3 separate regions of the Homo sapiens genome follow, and regions 1 and 3 are each linked to region 2. Evidence: promoter capture Hi-C in human tissues and cell types (Jung and others, 2019). All regions are on one chromosome and are shown on one strand. The core of a region is centred on a gene start or on the middle of the fragment in contact, and the rest is flanking DNA. Distances in the headings are between cores, read along the strand shown.

Region 1 (4,645 bases), core at 1,006-3,505, 58 kb before region 2:
TTTCAATAAGTCTAGAATAAAGTTCACCATTCTTCTTTAACCATAAGAAAGAAGAAAAACATCAAGCTCAAGCTCTTTTGTATCAAGCCGGACATAAAAAGTTCTCAGTTCAAAAATTTGGATTGCCCTGAATGTGCTCTAGGCTACTTGTATGCAAAATGCTGCATTAAGCTTAACCATCTGGGGCTAGTTAGTTGAGCTGGGCAGAGCACAGTGCTAATGAGGTCAAGGTCACAGGCTTGATCCACATATGGCCTAATTGGCTTTGCTCCATTTCATGGCCATAGACCATACCCTGACCTCAAACAGCCATCTTGCAAATATGTACTGGTTGGTCACAGGAGAGGCTCTCTGTGCTAGTTACACACTCACTACTCATCCAGGAGAAGCAACCCAAAAGGCTAATATCCCCTGGCAGTAGGTCAGTGACATCATAATCATATCTGAGAGAAAGCACAAGAAGGATCACAGTCCTTTAATAGAGATGGTGGCTAATTCTTATATGGTTACAAAATTAATGCATAACTATTTCATCTTTCTCACCTTATTACTCTTCAGAAGCTTCTAGGATATATTATCATTTAAAAATTTCTCCCCCTACCTCACAATTTTTATTTAAAGGCCTCATACTTTTGTCTTATGGTGGGCTAATGAAATTTGATGATGGGATACTCACATTGACTAAATCTAACATTCACTATAGGTTAGGCACTTTAATTTGCATTAATTAATTCCAAAAATTTGGGAAACTTGATCTACACATTTAAATACAGATAAGTAATTCCCTTCTTAATAACACTGATTTATAGCTTCCCTGTATATGTAAATGTTTGGAGGGCATCTTGCCAGAGATGGGGCAAAAGTCCTCTCATTTACTACCTGAGATAAGAAAATATGGTTTCCCCCAGTCACCTAGAGAGGCTGTATTACACGAAAGAGAGAGATTTCTTTTATTCATACCTTTACAAAAAAAGGTGTTAGATGTTTTTAATTCAATATCTGTTCTGTCTGGAACCATTATATGACCTTTAATGGAGAAGCTACCCATCCCTTTCCAGTACCTGACTTCTAAAATAAATGAACTATGTGACTTTGGATAAATCATTTAACCCCATCACCTATAAAACAAAGGAAATCGACTAGATAATCTCTACAGTGCCCCCTTGCTTTAAAATTCTGTGACTACCTTTGAATTCTCTTCTTAAAAACTTCGCAAGCCTTTTTTTTCTTTTTGTCACATTTTAGCATAGAATATCAAGTGAAGTCACAACAGTCTAAAGAAAAGTTAACCTTTCATGTTTTACAAAAAGAGATGTGTTTGGTTTTAATTTTATGGCTAAATTTAGGCCAGTTCTTTTGTCTTCTAAACCCATTAATCCTTGCAAGCACCTCTGTCCATGGTGCTGATTATGCAGGTTGGGTTGGTACACTCAAAGACTGAGGGCTCTATAGACTTCAGCAGCTCTGAATCAATAGGATCACAGTTTGGGGTGTGGAAGGAGGTAGATGGTGACTAAGATCATCTAAGTAAGAAAAAGGAGAGAAAGCCATATATAACTAACATAATTAAGAAGATGGAGATTGGAATTAAAATGGAAAAGAATACTGACAATACTGCATAGCAAGAAAAATGAGTGAGAAGCAAGAAATTAACCAGGAGAATGAGAAGGAATGAAGAAAATTCACAGAAGAGAAAGCCTTATTTGTATGATTCAGAGTTGTTTCAGAATTACCTGAGAAGAATTAGATGTAGTAACAACAGTTGAGACAACTGAATACAGAACCAATTAATGTAGTTTCTAAACTTAAACAAAGGATTTCAATTATTACTAAAGAACAAACTATGTGTCTGTCTTGGGGAATGTGTAGAGTATCCAGATATTAAGGTGAACTTGTGAAATCAGGGATATGGAAATGAAAATACTGCAGAAGAATTACAAAATGAGTCACAAGAAGGTTGTCAAGGAGATGCTCAAATGAACTCAATTCACTAAAGCACAGGGAATAACGAAGTGATATCAGGAACAAACATGACTGGAATACAGAGACCCAAGAGTAATAAAGTAAAAACCCAAAAAGAATACCGGAAAATCTTATAGACAAAAAAAAAATGTAATATTTCTTCTCTCTCCAAACCAACTCTTCTACCAAAAACTTTAAAAAAATTTCCTTGAGTTACTTTGTTTTCTTCCAAGCCTTTACACCACAAAATGTGGAACAGAAGTACACTGAGACCCAAGCAACGAAAAAGAGATGATATTGAACACAGTTATCCAGCCCATCTTCTCCCCCTAGGAAGCCTTTAATGGTTTTATTCACTACTGAGAGAAGGAAGAGAGCTCCAGAAAAGAAAGAAAATAAACAAAATTTCAGATTTATTTTAACTTCATGTTTTTGTCATATCTTATTGTTTTGGGAGGTTTCCTTATATACACGTAGATAAACTGGACCCAACCAAAATATTATTTTACTTTAAATGGCTATGTTCATGAAAACAGCTCACAATCAGTAAGATGCGATTTTTGTTCCCCATGACATGTGAGATTATGTACACTGGCTTTGAAAACACAAAAGTAGCATAACTGTTTTGCTTAATTTCAATGAACTATTCCTATATGCTGAAAAGCTTAGTCCAAATGTATTTATTTATTTATTTGTTTGTTTATTTATTTATTTTTGAGACAGAGTCTTGCTCTCTCACCCAGGGTGGAGTGCAACGGCACGATCTTGGCTCACTGCAACCTCCGCCTCCCAGCTTCAAGCGATTCTCCTGCCTCAGCCTCCCAAGTGGCAGGGATTACAGGCACCCATCACCACATCCAGGTAATTTTTGTAACTTTAAAAGAGACAGGGTTTTGCCATGTTGGCCAGGCTTGTCTCGAACTCCTGACCTTAGGTGATCCACCCACCTTGGCCTCCCAAAATGCTGGGATCACAGGCGTGAGCCACCGTGCCCGGCCCAAATTTAATTTTATCTAAATCGTTTCATTTTGAATCCAAGGGGCAAGAACTACAGCCATTTCTTCACAGTTCAGAGTTGAGACCACTGTTTTAGAGCCACACAGATTTATGCAGAATTCTGGAGCTGCCTCTTAGTACCCATGTGCCTTAGCCAAGCTAATTAATGTCTTTCATCCTCTGCATCCTAATCCATATATGGGATGATTATGTCCAACCTCATAGGGTTCCTGTAAGTTTCAAAGATGTATGTTGAGTGTCCAGCACAAAATAAATACTTAACTATGGAAAGTTGAAACATACCAATAAAGGAGTAGCTTAACTAAAAGTGTCTATATCAAGAGAAGCTGTGTTTTTAAAATTTTGTAATCCTAGAAAAACAGTTTTACAAGAAATTCCATAGGTCACCAATAAAGTTGTGTAATAATTTCAAGTCAATGATAAAACACAATGGACATCAACAGGCTCAGAATATGCATCAAGTCAATTCTTTTTTAAAAATTACTACAAAAGCATTGTTGCTTTAAATACTTTAGAAGATGCAAGTTGTTATTTGGGAAGCAAACTTCTTGAAAGTATTTAATGGTGAAGTAAACACTTGCTTTGGAAATATATATTTTGGCTGTTAAGATCCCATGGACTTCCAATATTAGCTGAAATACATTTGTAGGTGGAAAATGTTTGTGATTTACATGACTTACATTTGATTGGCCCTTGGAGGAAAATAATACAATCACAACAAACACAACAGAACAACTTTACCAAGATGTCCAAATGCAGAGAAGTGAGTGCAAGCTGCTTTGGTTTTGTTGATGCCATCACAAATAAATAAGAATGGAAGAATGTAATGGCTCCTACTTCTGCAAATTCTTTGAATCTGGCCACTCAAAGGAATTTGTCCTTACCTGCCTGCTTTGGTGATGATCATTTCAGTTCCAATATCATGGAACCGCTTCCAGAGGTCAGCACATTGCAGCTCCACCTGAATCTCCTCCATGGAAGACATGGCAGCAGGCACAGGGCCTGCAGCACCAGAGGCCAGGTCAGTGTGAGTACTGAAGGAGCAGGAAGTCCGCTCAGTGAGGACCTCAGAATCTGAACCAGTGCTCTGCTCAGAATCTGCAAAATAAACAATCAAGCCTTAGGTGAGAAACTGCTGAGCTCCCCTCACCCATGGCCCTAAAAGATGGGGGTGGGAAATGCAATGAAGTGGGGAGAGGGGTAAACAAAAGGAGACTTAAAGCTGGGAAGCTCCAGAGCACAGCACTCAGGGTATTTTATTATTTTTTATGGTTTGTTTTTGTGATTTATGACCTTCTTTCAGGTTTCGTGTTTCCAACATGACATCTGGCATTTTAGTAAGTTTTAGCAACAGCTGAAGAAAATTGGTCCACAACAGGCAATATAAATAGTACTAATGTCACCATGTTGAAGAGAATGAGGCCAAACTGGGGCAACAAAATAAATGCCATATTAAACTAAAATAATTATAAATTACAGGTCCAAACCTAGATTAGACTATTACATTTGTGCAAGTAAAGATTCAGTGCAAACATTATGTTCTTCAATTCCATACCACTCAGCATCACTGCCTGTCAGTTATTTTTAAACACAGAAATTTTTCCTCTACTTACATAAGCCATGGCCATCAAAAGTAATGAAAAGCTGCTTGGGATCTTTAGAAGTA
Region 2 (4,797 bases), core at 2,298-4,797:
ATACATAGTTTCCTCTGTGGAGTGAGTGCCTACAACGCGCAGGCCGGACTGATCCCCCGTTGCTGCAGGTTGGTGCCCCAAGCTGCGGGTGCTCGGGCGCCAACTAAAGCCAGCTCTGTCCAGACGCGGAAAGAAAAATGGGCTGTGAAAAAGCAAAAGGCCTCGTCTTTGAATGAAAGTTAAACATTAAAATCTGACCCTAGAGTTGTCTAAAGATCGCGGAATTTTGAAGCTCCGGCAGAGCGGACTAAAAAACGGTGCTATGAGAGATGGTGAGAATACTCTAGGCATGAACGTGTGCGTGTGTGTTTGTGTGTGTGTGTGTGTTTCATTCTTCCCGCAAAACAATTTTTTGTTTTTTTCCTATTCCCGGTTTGTTATCGGCCTAGGGCGGGAGAACCACGCAGCGGCTTCTGGGCCCTAAGGACAAAAGAGTTAAAACAATGAGGCTCACCCGGGAAGAGACGCTGCCCTGGGCACAATAGGGTCGCCTGCATTACTCCTCCATACACACATCTTTAAATGTGTCCCTGTGTGTGTTCGTTAGGGTGCTGTATTACAGAAAAAGAAAGGCCTAAAAACACCCCCAGCCCTGGTCGCGCCTTTCGCTACCGCCTGAGTCTGGAGCCGACAGCTCCACCTCTTCTGCTCCCTGGACCGCCGCGTCTCCACGCCACGGCGCCCTTTTTACTAAAAGATCTTTTCTCATCCTATCAGCAAATCGTTAAGAAAGGCTTAGCCATTGCGGGGGCTCCAACTTAAGGATTCCCCCGGCCCACTAAAAGGCTAGGCCCGGCCTGTAGCCCAGCTCCGCAGAAAGCCAGAGGGTGCTGGGCTTTCAGCTTCTTCCTCCTAGACACTTGCCCCACAAATATATTTCGTTTTCTCTAATCCAAATACCCATCTTTTTCTTTTTTAAAAAATGATAACGTAATGGGAAATGACCAACCGAACTCTGTTACATAAAGTTAGTTCTGTTAGATCTTCCACCCCACCCCCATCCCGCGGGAGCGAGTAAATAGAATTCATGAGCTTAGCTCCCCAGGTTCACGCTCTGGAATGGTTTCTTTTTGCCTCATTCCCTAAGTTTTCTCTCTTCTGCCTCCTGAATGGAGCTCAGGCTAAGGAGAACGGCAGAAAGAGCAAACTCTGATCTGAATCTCTAATTATGACCCCATGTATTACCCATTTGAACATAAGGCCCTAGACGGGCTCCGTGCGATCTGGGGCCTCCCAAGAGAAAACTTCCCCGGGACAGGACGTCTGCCACGCGCAGCTAAACAACTTCTGTTTTTTCCGCCGTGGGGAAAATAAAAGAACCTTACAAATTCTAAGGCGTCATAACCCCTGCAAGAACTTCTAACTGTATGAAGGCCCACGCGAGATTTTGACAATAGATAAATGAGCTGAGGAAATAGGGTCTGGCCAGCGAAGGGAAACACACAGTAGCCCTGGGTGCCTTTCTGGAATGCCCACGCAGGGGTCCGCGTGGACAAGCACTTGCATTCAAATACAGGAAAAGGCTTGGACGGTCGAAATAAATCTCCTTTTAATTTTCTTTTCATCGACTAATAAAAATAATTCCCCAGCACTAAACTCAAATACCGTAACGGGCCACAAAAACACGGAGAATTCATAAAACTCTATCTCTGCAGGTCACCCGCTAATCGCATTATTATTAGCCTCGGGAGCATGGAAATTGAACTGTCACTGCCTAAAGAGAAAATGTAAGCGACAGCTGTCCCTCCTCTGAGTTGGACAGCTTTGTGGCTGAGATCCCCAAGCTCCTGAGCCCCAGACCGTCTCTATCCCAGTGCAGGCCGCTGCCCCCTCCCCGGGCTTGTCAGCGTGTGAAGCGGGGTCTACTCCCCAGCTCTGGCTGTTCAGCAGGAGCACCTTCCAGCATGGTTTTAGAAGTCCGGGCTGGAAAGCTTCTGAAACCGCTAAACCAAGTTGCGAGCGTTGTATGTGCGCGCGCGCACACTCAAGATTCTTCCGACAACAGCTGTTCCCCCGGGCTGTTTTTGCACAGTTGAAATCTTGGCACTTAACACAAAACGTTAAAGTTGGCTTCTCCCCTCCTAGGGTTCTGTTAAAATACAGACATGACATCCCCCCTGCTTTTTACATGTTCCGTGCACATAATATACATGGGTTACTGTAGGATCTGAGACACAAATCAATCGTACCCACACCCTAAATACACAGAGATGTGGGCCCTGAAGAGTGACCCAAGGAGTAAGGGGTCTAACATCCATTCTTGTTTCCGTAAACGCCAAAGGAGTAGAAATATAATTATGTTCCACCATCGAAAAGTTGGTGGGAGAAAGGCAAGGACGAGGTTGAAGGCTAAATGAGACAACTGGTCATTCCCCGAAGACTGAGGTATTGGATTGGAGAACGCCGCGCCAGTCCTCCCGAGTTCTCAGAAGCGAGTCCTAGATCTCGGCTCCCGCCGTTGCCTTCGGCCCGCGCCCCTCCCAATCCCAGGGACCGGCAGCCCTTCATCCACGGACACCCAGAAAGCTGCGCTCTCCACCCAAAAGAAAAAGAAATGCAAACAAACAGGACTCCTTGCTTAGGCTGGCGACGAAAATGCAAGGCTCAGTCCAGCCCCAAAAATTGGTTCCGGTGAATTTAGGGAGGCTCAGGGCATTTGCGCGAAGAAACAGAAACCTATGTTGGGGCAAGGCAGGGCGTCAATGGCAGGGCCTAGCTCCTCACCCGCGACCGGCGACTGGCCCTTCGGCGTCCCCTCTCCGCCCGCCTCCCGCGGTCGGCTGCGACGCACTCACCCGGGTGAGGCTCCAGGCCGTGTGCCGCCGCGTCCTCCGTGTCTCCGAGTGGGCCCGCGGGGCTCAGCGCCTCCATAGACAGGTCCAGCCCCTTCTCCTCCCAGTCTCGCAGTTTCCGTTTTTTATTTGAGCCGATCAAGGCTTCAACGGAGAAGGCATGTGCTCGCGAGCTCAGGGCGACTGCAGATCTTCTCCTTTCACTCATTTTAGCCGCCCACACCCCTGCCTCCGCTTGCCCCCGCTACCGAGGGAGCAGCCGGCGCCCTCAAGCTCTGAGCGCCCACCGGGCCCGGCCCGGGAGAGGCGGAGGCGCGTCGGACGAGGCTGAGACTGCGGCTCGCGGGTCTCTCCACCCTCCCCCTGCGTCCTCCTCCGCCCTCCTCTGCCGGATCCGACCTGCGCCCCTACGCTGGCCCAGCTGCTAGGAACTAGCGCCCCGAGCGCCGCCCGCTCGCTGCATGAGCGCCCGAGTCCTGCTTCCCACCCACCGGGGCAGGCGCTCACAGACTGTGTCCACTGAACTTCATCTTGTTTTTGTTATTATTATTATTCTCTCTCCTCTCTCTCTCTCTCTCTCTCTCCCCTCCCTCTCTTTTTCTCTCCTCCCCCTCTCTCTCTCTTCCTCTCTGCCTTCCCGTCCTCCCTGTGATCCAAACTTCTGGGAAACTTTTTTTTCCGCTAAATTCCTCCCTTCCCGAGGAACAGGGGGCAGGCGGTGCGCTCCTGTCCGAGGGGTGAGGGAGAGGGAGGGGGAGGAAGAAAAAGACTGAGGGGGAAAAAAGCCAGCCCCCAACCAATAGCGAGGAGGGAACAAGAGAAACTCCGAGAGCGCGAACCAATGAGAGGAAGGGAGAGACTGAGGCCCGGGCCAAAGCGCAGCGCCAGTCGTCCCCTGGATGCTCCTGGGCCGACTTTAACCCCTGGCTTCCCGGTTTCCCCATGGGTTACTCCAAGAGGGAGGTAGGACAGTTGAAAGTTGAGGTCTGATCTGCGCCTTTACAAACTCCTGCAAATCCCAAATCCATACGTTTTTCTTCCAGATCTGCTGGTCTCATAGACGCTGCAAGTCCAGAGTCACTTTAGTTGCAGATCTGGAATTTTGGGGCTCTGACAAAATGTTAACCTGTCCAAAATGCCAGAAAACGATTCTGATAATTTCGCGTCAGCCCCTAGGTGCTTTAGAATATTCTGGTTCCTCCTGGATTTCGCCACACAGGTTTTAATGTTCCTACTGAACGTTTTCTAAGCAAATCTGGGTAAGGCAAAAGGAAACAAACAAACAAGCAAACAGAAAGCCCTGTTACTAACCAGGGTCTTGTAACTGAAAATTCAAAGACCGCTTCCTCCTTCCAGCTCTACCTGGTGGAGAAGGAGACACAGGCGCCTTGAGAGCAAGGGGCGGGCGGCGGAGCGCGGGGTTTAGGGCGAGCTCCTCAGGCGTATTCCAGCTGGGCCCCCTCACGCCGCAAATACTCTCTTTCCCTACGGCCCGAACGCTGGGCTGCGCTTCGCCTGTTCCGGGCTCTTGTTGCAGAGAACCTATGGAGAGGTGACAGGCAAGAACAGCTAGGAACTTTAACAGAAGAGAAGGAGCTTTTTCAAAATTCCCTGCAAATCCCGTTACCTCAAGACCATGGCTTTCCCGGCCAGCTGATCTCCCCCCTGGCCGCCCCCTGCCTTTTGCGATCTCTAAGGACTGCATTCAACATGGATTTCTAAGGAATTAAAAAATCCAACGCTCCTGGCCATTCTTAATTCCCACACCTCTTCCCAAGTTACGCCACCGGTCGAGGACGGCAGGAGACCCCCGAGTGCAGAGAAAGCTCAAACCGGCAGCGAAGTCGGTCCTAGCCAAGCTGAAAAAACGTCTCGGATTTCGCGGACAGCGGCCTAGACACAGCCCGATCTTCCAGTCCTAGTGCCCTGGTCGAGACGGTTCTATCCTTTTGCAAAGAAGCCGGAAAGAGCTGGGTCCCGGGGGCGGGGGACAGACTGAGAGGCC
Region 3 (5,084 bases), core at 1,495-3,994, 41 kb before region 2:
CCCAACTTCCCAGACCCTCCAGGAAAAGTCTTCCTCCCAAGTCTCTCCTGTCTTTCTTTTTCCTCTAAAGCTCTTCCCAAAAGGGAATGAGTCATCAAAGGATGCTAACCCCAGGATGGATTTTTTATGATGGCCAAGAAAAGGAGGGTGGGGTGAGGTAAGGAATTGCCTTACACTGTCTTCTGTGTAGAAGGCTGATTTGGGAATCGCAAAGTGAACATGTTATTCTTAACTCCATTCCCGACTCCTTGAGTCATCCTCACCATGTCACTTAATTCCACTCATTCCATGGTCAACATCTTGGCTTCAACAAGGCTCTATTTTTCCCCAGGCCTACCTACCTTGAAGGGTCAGAATGACCCTTGAAGAGACAGTGTCCTTCAAGTGTGTCAGCAATTCAGAAACTGACAGCTTCCAAAATAGCTGGTGTGTTGTTGAGTGTCTGTTGCCTTCTGAAAGAGTGGCAGTGTCGCCGAGACAGCAGGATTTCCTTGCCAAAGTTGCTCCTACCCTCCTCCCCACAAGACTCTGCCCTGCCTCTCCCTGTCCCTGCCTAGGAAGACTTTGAGCCCAGGGGCCATGGCATTTAAGCACTGTCAGAGTTCCCACTTCAATTCCCACAGTGGTGCCAGTTCAGCATCTGTCATGATGACCCAGCCTGAACTGTATTTAGAAGCTTGGACATGGCACCATGTTCCAGCACATCTCACAGTGACAGGAGATTTCCTGAGCACCTGGGCTTGCGATTCGAGCACTCCTCTTCCCAGGGAATGGGGGTCAAAATGACTTTCCTCTGATGACCTGTTTCCTTCTTAGGATGGTGTCCTTCTGTTGGAGGCCTCTTCTCAGAGTCAATCTCCATCAATGCTATTACACAATGCTGTTTAAAAATCCATACTTTTTAGAAAGCTTGCAATACGTAGCAGGGGAAAGAGAGGAGAATAGGAAAGTCAATCAGAAAATGGGTTTAGTACTCTGTTCATGGACTATTCTTACAAAGATAAATTTCCCTGAAAACATAGCCTGGGAGTGTTCAGAACCTACCAGACATTGCCAGTGAATTGAGAGAGCCTGTCTATTTCACAACTAAGTGGGACAGTGTATAAGAATTCATTTCATCTTTTTGGCAGCATTTATTCCAGTCTTTAAAGCAGCATACTACAGTCCCCCCAAAATTGTAAGTTAACTCTGATTAGTGGTTAAAAATTAAGTCCATTTATTTACATATTCACATTAATCTCCACCTAGACAGGCAGACTGATAATTGTATAACACTAATCAGGTGGGCTGTAAGTTTTGAGGGTTACTGCACACAGAGCAGGTCTAGGTCCTCAATCTGATAGGTCACAGGAGAAAGAAAGGCTTTTTCTCAATTGACCCCAAACTCTCTACCCCACTGTCCCTAACCAGAGCTCCATGGAGACACCCTGTCATTTAAAAGGCATCAACGTTTGGCCTCTCCCATTCCTGGGCAAGAACCCAACACTCAGAGAATGTGGTTTTAGGATCATGGCATCTAATCCATTCAAGGATTATTTTCCCCCCCTACTGTTCAGATGGGTGTGTTAATCATCACCTCTCTTTGTTCTGTAATAAATTCAACCCTGGCTAATTCCAAGCCTCTATGCATCACTGGAGTTTAAAGATGGCATTTTGACAGGTCAGATATTCAGAGTCAATGGTCCACCAACCAGTCAAAAATCCTTAAGTACTTTTAGGAACATGTGGAAGTAATTTTTTCCAAGAATTTACAAGTCTGGAGGATGGGATCTTATTGATGGTGTATGAGCTGTTGTATATATTAAAGTATTACTTTATATACATATTCTACATATAATCAACATTGATGTATGAGTGAAGGCAGATTTCCCTTTTTATACCAAGTACTACACAAGTATTATCAAATGCAAATTACAATAAAGTATACAATATATAGCATCTTTAAAAAAATAAGACTACAGTAAAACTATAAGTGAATGTGCAATGAGTACAAGTTTAAAATACAAATGCTATAGGCTAGGAAATTTCATAGATATCAGAATATTTTATATGACACTTGCTATACTTGTACATTTTAACTACAGTCATAGTTTGAGATGAATATTTTTATAAAGAAAAAATTTATTATATAAAATATTGACTTCTAATTATTTAAATGAAGAGGTTATTAACCTAAAGTCAATGGACAAGCTTTGGAGGTTTACAAGTCACCTAAAATGATAAGTTAAATTTGCAAAAGCTTGTGTGCTTTTCTGGGGCAAGGATGCATGGGATTTATGAGATTCTCAAAGGAATCTATGACTTTAAAAGGCCTTAAGGACTACACTGGTTTGATAGGTTTTCTTCAAGTGTAATAAACATCCATCTTTCCAAGCTCTATTCTGCTGTAACAAAATGCTTTTTCCCTCAGCCAGATATTTACAATGAAAAAGATTCAAAAGAATATGACACAGATTACTAATGGTGCATCTTAATAAAAATATATTTTATCTTTATTATGAAGAGGAAGGGATTGTGTTTCTCTATGTAGTAATGAGTATTAAAATGGCCACCTGAGACCATCTTGCTTTCTCTGTATGATTCCCTATTTTCCATTGATCTTTATTTTAACCACACATACACATATATATAAGTTGGATAAATTATAATCCATATTCACCTACTTACTTGGGGAAAGTAGATGAATTATAAATTATTTTTGAGTGAATGAAAACGTGGCTTTTCCTTTGGTCTTGCTGCTTTTACTCTGGTTCTCTTTTCCCCTATCTCCCAGGAAAACATTAGTGGCACAGGAACCCCAAGCTTACCAGGTTCTTTCTCCTTATGTGTGCCAAAAGTCTGCACAGCAAGTCTGCTGTTGCGGGACTTGCAGTCCAATCCCCTCACTGGGGATGTGCTCTTAGGCAGTGGTCCCTGTATCTCAGAAGAAATCCCTCCACCTCATGTCCTCTAAGGCAATGTCTGCATCTGGCACTGGGGTTGAGAGGCAGCTCCACAGGGAAAGCTGGACACAGTGAGTAAGTGAGGCTGCCCCAGGTAGGCCTGCCAAGGCTTTCCTAAAGGCCATGGCAATGGAGCCTGCCCATGAGAAGAACATTTTGGTGAGCTCAGTTTGTCTGCTACCAAGAACCTCCTGGTCCTCCCAGCTAAACATCTATTTTTACCACACTGTGACACTGAAGACTCTGCTGTCATTAAAGTGAATAATAAATACAGTCAACTGCATTATTTGTCATTTTATGGTGAAAGGAACTCTGGATTCAGAATCAGAAGGTAGGAGTGTTAGTCCTGGTTTGGAATCAGAAAGCAAGAGTGTGAGTCCTGATTCTGACTCTACCTAGAGATATGATCTTGAGGAGCCATTTAACCCTGTGGTGCCTCAGTTGACACATCTGTGAGAAGTGGAGAAGGAATCCTACTGCTTACGCAACTCAATGAGGCACCAGCAAAATAAAACAATGCAGAGGAAAGCACTTTGTAAATTATAAAGTGCCATATAAAAATGTAACTTATCAGCATTACATTTAATCATTCACCCTGCAGAGATTTCTCAATGTGCTCTAAATACCATGCTTAATCCATACTTGCAGTGCCCATTAGAGATGAGGAAACTGAGACTCGGTGAAGCAAAGTGGTGAAGTGAGAAGACCTGCTTGCTGAGAGCCTGGGTTCTCTCCTCAAACTGGTCCATGCCTCCCCCAGCAGCAGTACTTCATTTACTCTTGCTGAGCAACTATTGCCTCATTTTTAAAATGGAGACGTTAACTGCTTGCTCCTATGAGACAAAGATCTAGACAAAATGACCTACCCAGCATCTTGTTCCATGATCTGTGATTCTGCAAAATGCGAGCAAGGTCATGAGTTATCTTGTGGTGGTAGGGAACTAGCAGCCAAGTGTGCTGACCAATGGACCCCATTTGTTCTTTTGGTTTCTGAAGCATAGCATCTGACCATCTCCCCAGTGGTGACTCAGTGAAGAGTCACAGTACAGTCAGGGTCTCTATTATGCTAAGTGCCTTTTCCTATATTCTGATTCTCTGTTAAGAGACATACGTAGCAACTTTTCACTGATCAAGCAAAATAACCCATTTTATAATGGGGGCAGACAGATAACATCTTTAAAAGGTCAGTTTACAGTCCACACCGAGAGATTGGCTCTATCACATATCCTCTTACACAGAGGCCACTAGGCTGCAGGATAATTAGTATGGCCAAATTGCTCTAATTATTTTCAGCAAAAGAAGGCTTTGCTCAATCCAATGGCAAAATGTTCCAGGGACTGGTCCTGTGGGATTCTGAGACCACCAGCAGAGCTGGCCTTCTGCTCCCTCCTAAAACAAAAGCTAGTCCCAAAGAAACCTCAGGTTTTACATAAAGTTGCTCAACTTCTCTAGGGTCCAACCTGCCTGGCTCTTTTCCCCTCTGGGCCTCAGTGCAATTCTTCTCTCAAAGCATACCTCACTTTGCCTTTACCCCACAGAGTCACTGTTGTGGCAGGACTCAATGTTTGCAACTGTTTTTCAACTTCACAAAGAAACACCTAGTAAAAGATCTTGCTATTGATTCTCATTTCTCAAAATGATCTTGTGAAACATGCTGCTTGTTGCCTCAGAGAAAGTGACTTTTCTTCCCTCCAGAAAGACCCTACCATGGTTTGAGTTGTGATTACACATCTGAATTCAGTTTGCACAAGATAAATATTACTAAATTAGAGATAAATATTCTGCTAACTTGGTCCTTAGAAGAAAAAACGCAACATGTTTCTTATCATGCTCCTAAACTGCCTGTGAAAGACCTCTTTCTTGCCATTATTTACAATTTAATTATGAGTCAGTGTGGACCAGGATAAAATATATCCTCTTAGGAAGGGAGAGCAAATGAGTTTCAACATGCATGTCAGCTCTAGCCATTTGAATGTGGCATTTGAGAGCTTGAAATTCAGAAGCATGAGGCCCAATCCAAGCTCATAGGGAAGAGTACCAGATTGATTAGTGATGTGTTTCATGGACACAGGAGTCAGGAATAGCAGCATATGCATTACATATTTATTATCATATTATTTCTAAGGCTTCTACTGGAATGCT

Evidence for each region. The method cuts DNA at HindIII sites, captures the fragments that hold promoters and counts their contacts. A contact is called where the count stands out against the background at its distance.
Region 1: a contact is called between a fragment that was not itself captured here and the fragment with the promoter of TBX15 in region 2, in 1 of the 25 tissues and cell types used here (liver).
Region 3: a contact is called between a fragment that was not itself captured here and the fragment with the promoter of TBX15 in region 2, in 2 of the 25 tissues and cell types used here (psoas muscle and spleen).

What each region holds. Positions count from the first base shown.
Region 1 is chr1:118,927,756-118,932,400 of GRCh38, forward strand. It overlaps TBX15 (T-box transcription factor 15), which reads right to left. Exons shown (of 8, transcript NM_001330677.2): 2 at 3,864-4,077. Among named protein-coding and RNA genes, the nearest start is that of TBX15, 58 kb to the right of the region's middle. RefSeq lists a silencer at 1,211-1,505. The HindIII fragment of the contact is 5,420 bases long and covers 1-4,645 here.
Region 2 is chr1:118,984,796-118,989,592 of GRCh38, forward strand. It overlaps TBX15 (T-box transcription factor 15), which reads right to left and starts at 3,548. Exons shown (of 8, transcript NM_001330677.2): 1 at 2,796-3,548. The coding sequence starts at 3,000. RefSeq lists enhancers at 418-1,095, 2,415-2,948, 2,949-3,481. The HindIII fragment of the contact is 7,773 bases long and covers 1-4,797 here.
Region 3 is chr1:118,944,143-118,949,226 of GRCh38, forward strand. The region is part of intron 1 of TBX15 (T-box transcription factor 15); the gene reads right to left. Among named protein-coding and RNA genes, the nearest start is that of TBX15, 42 kb to the right of the region's middle. The HindIII fragment of the contact is 3,904 bases long and covers 793-4,696 here.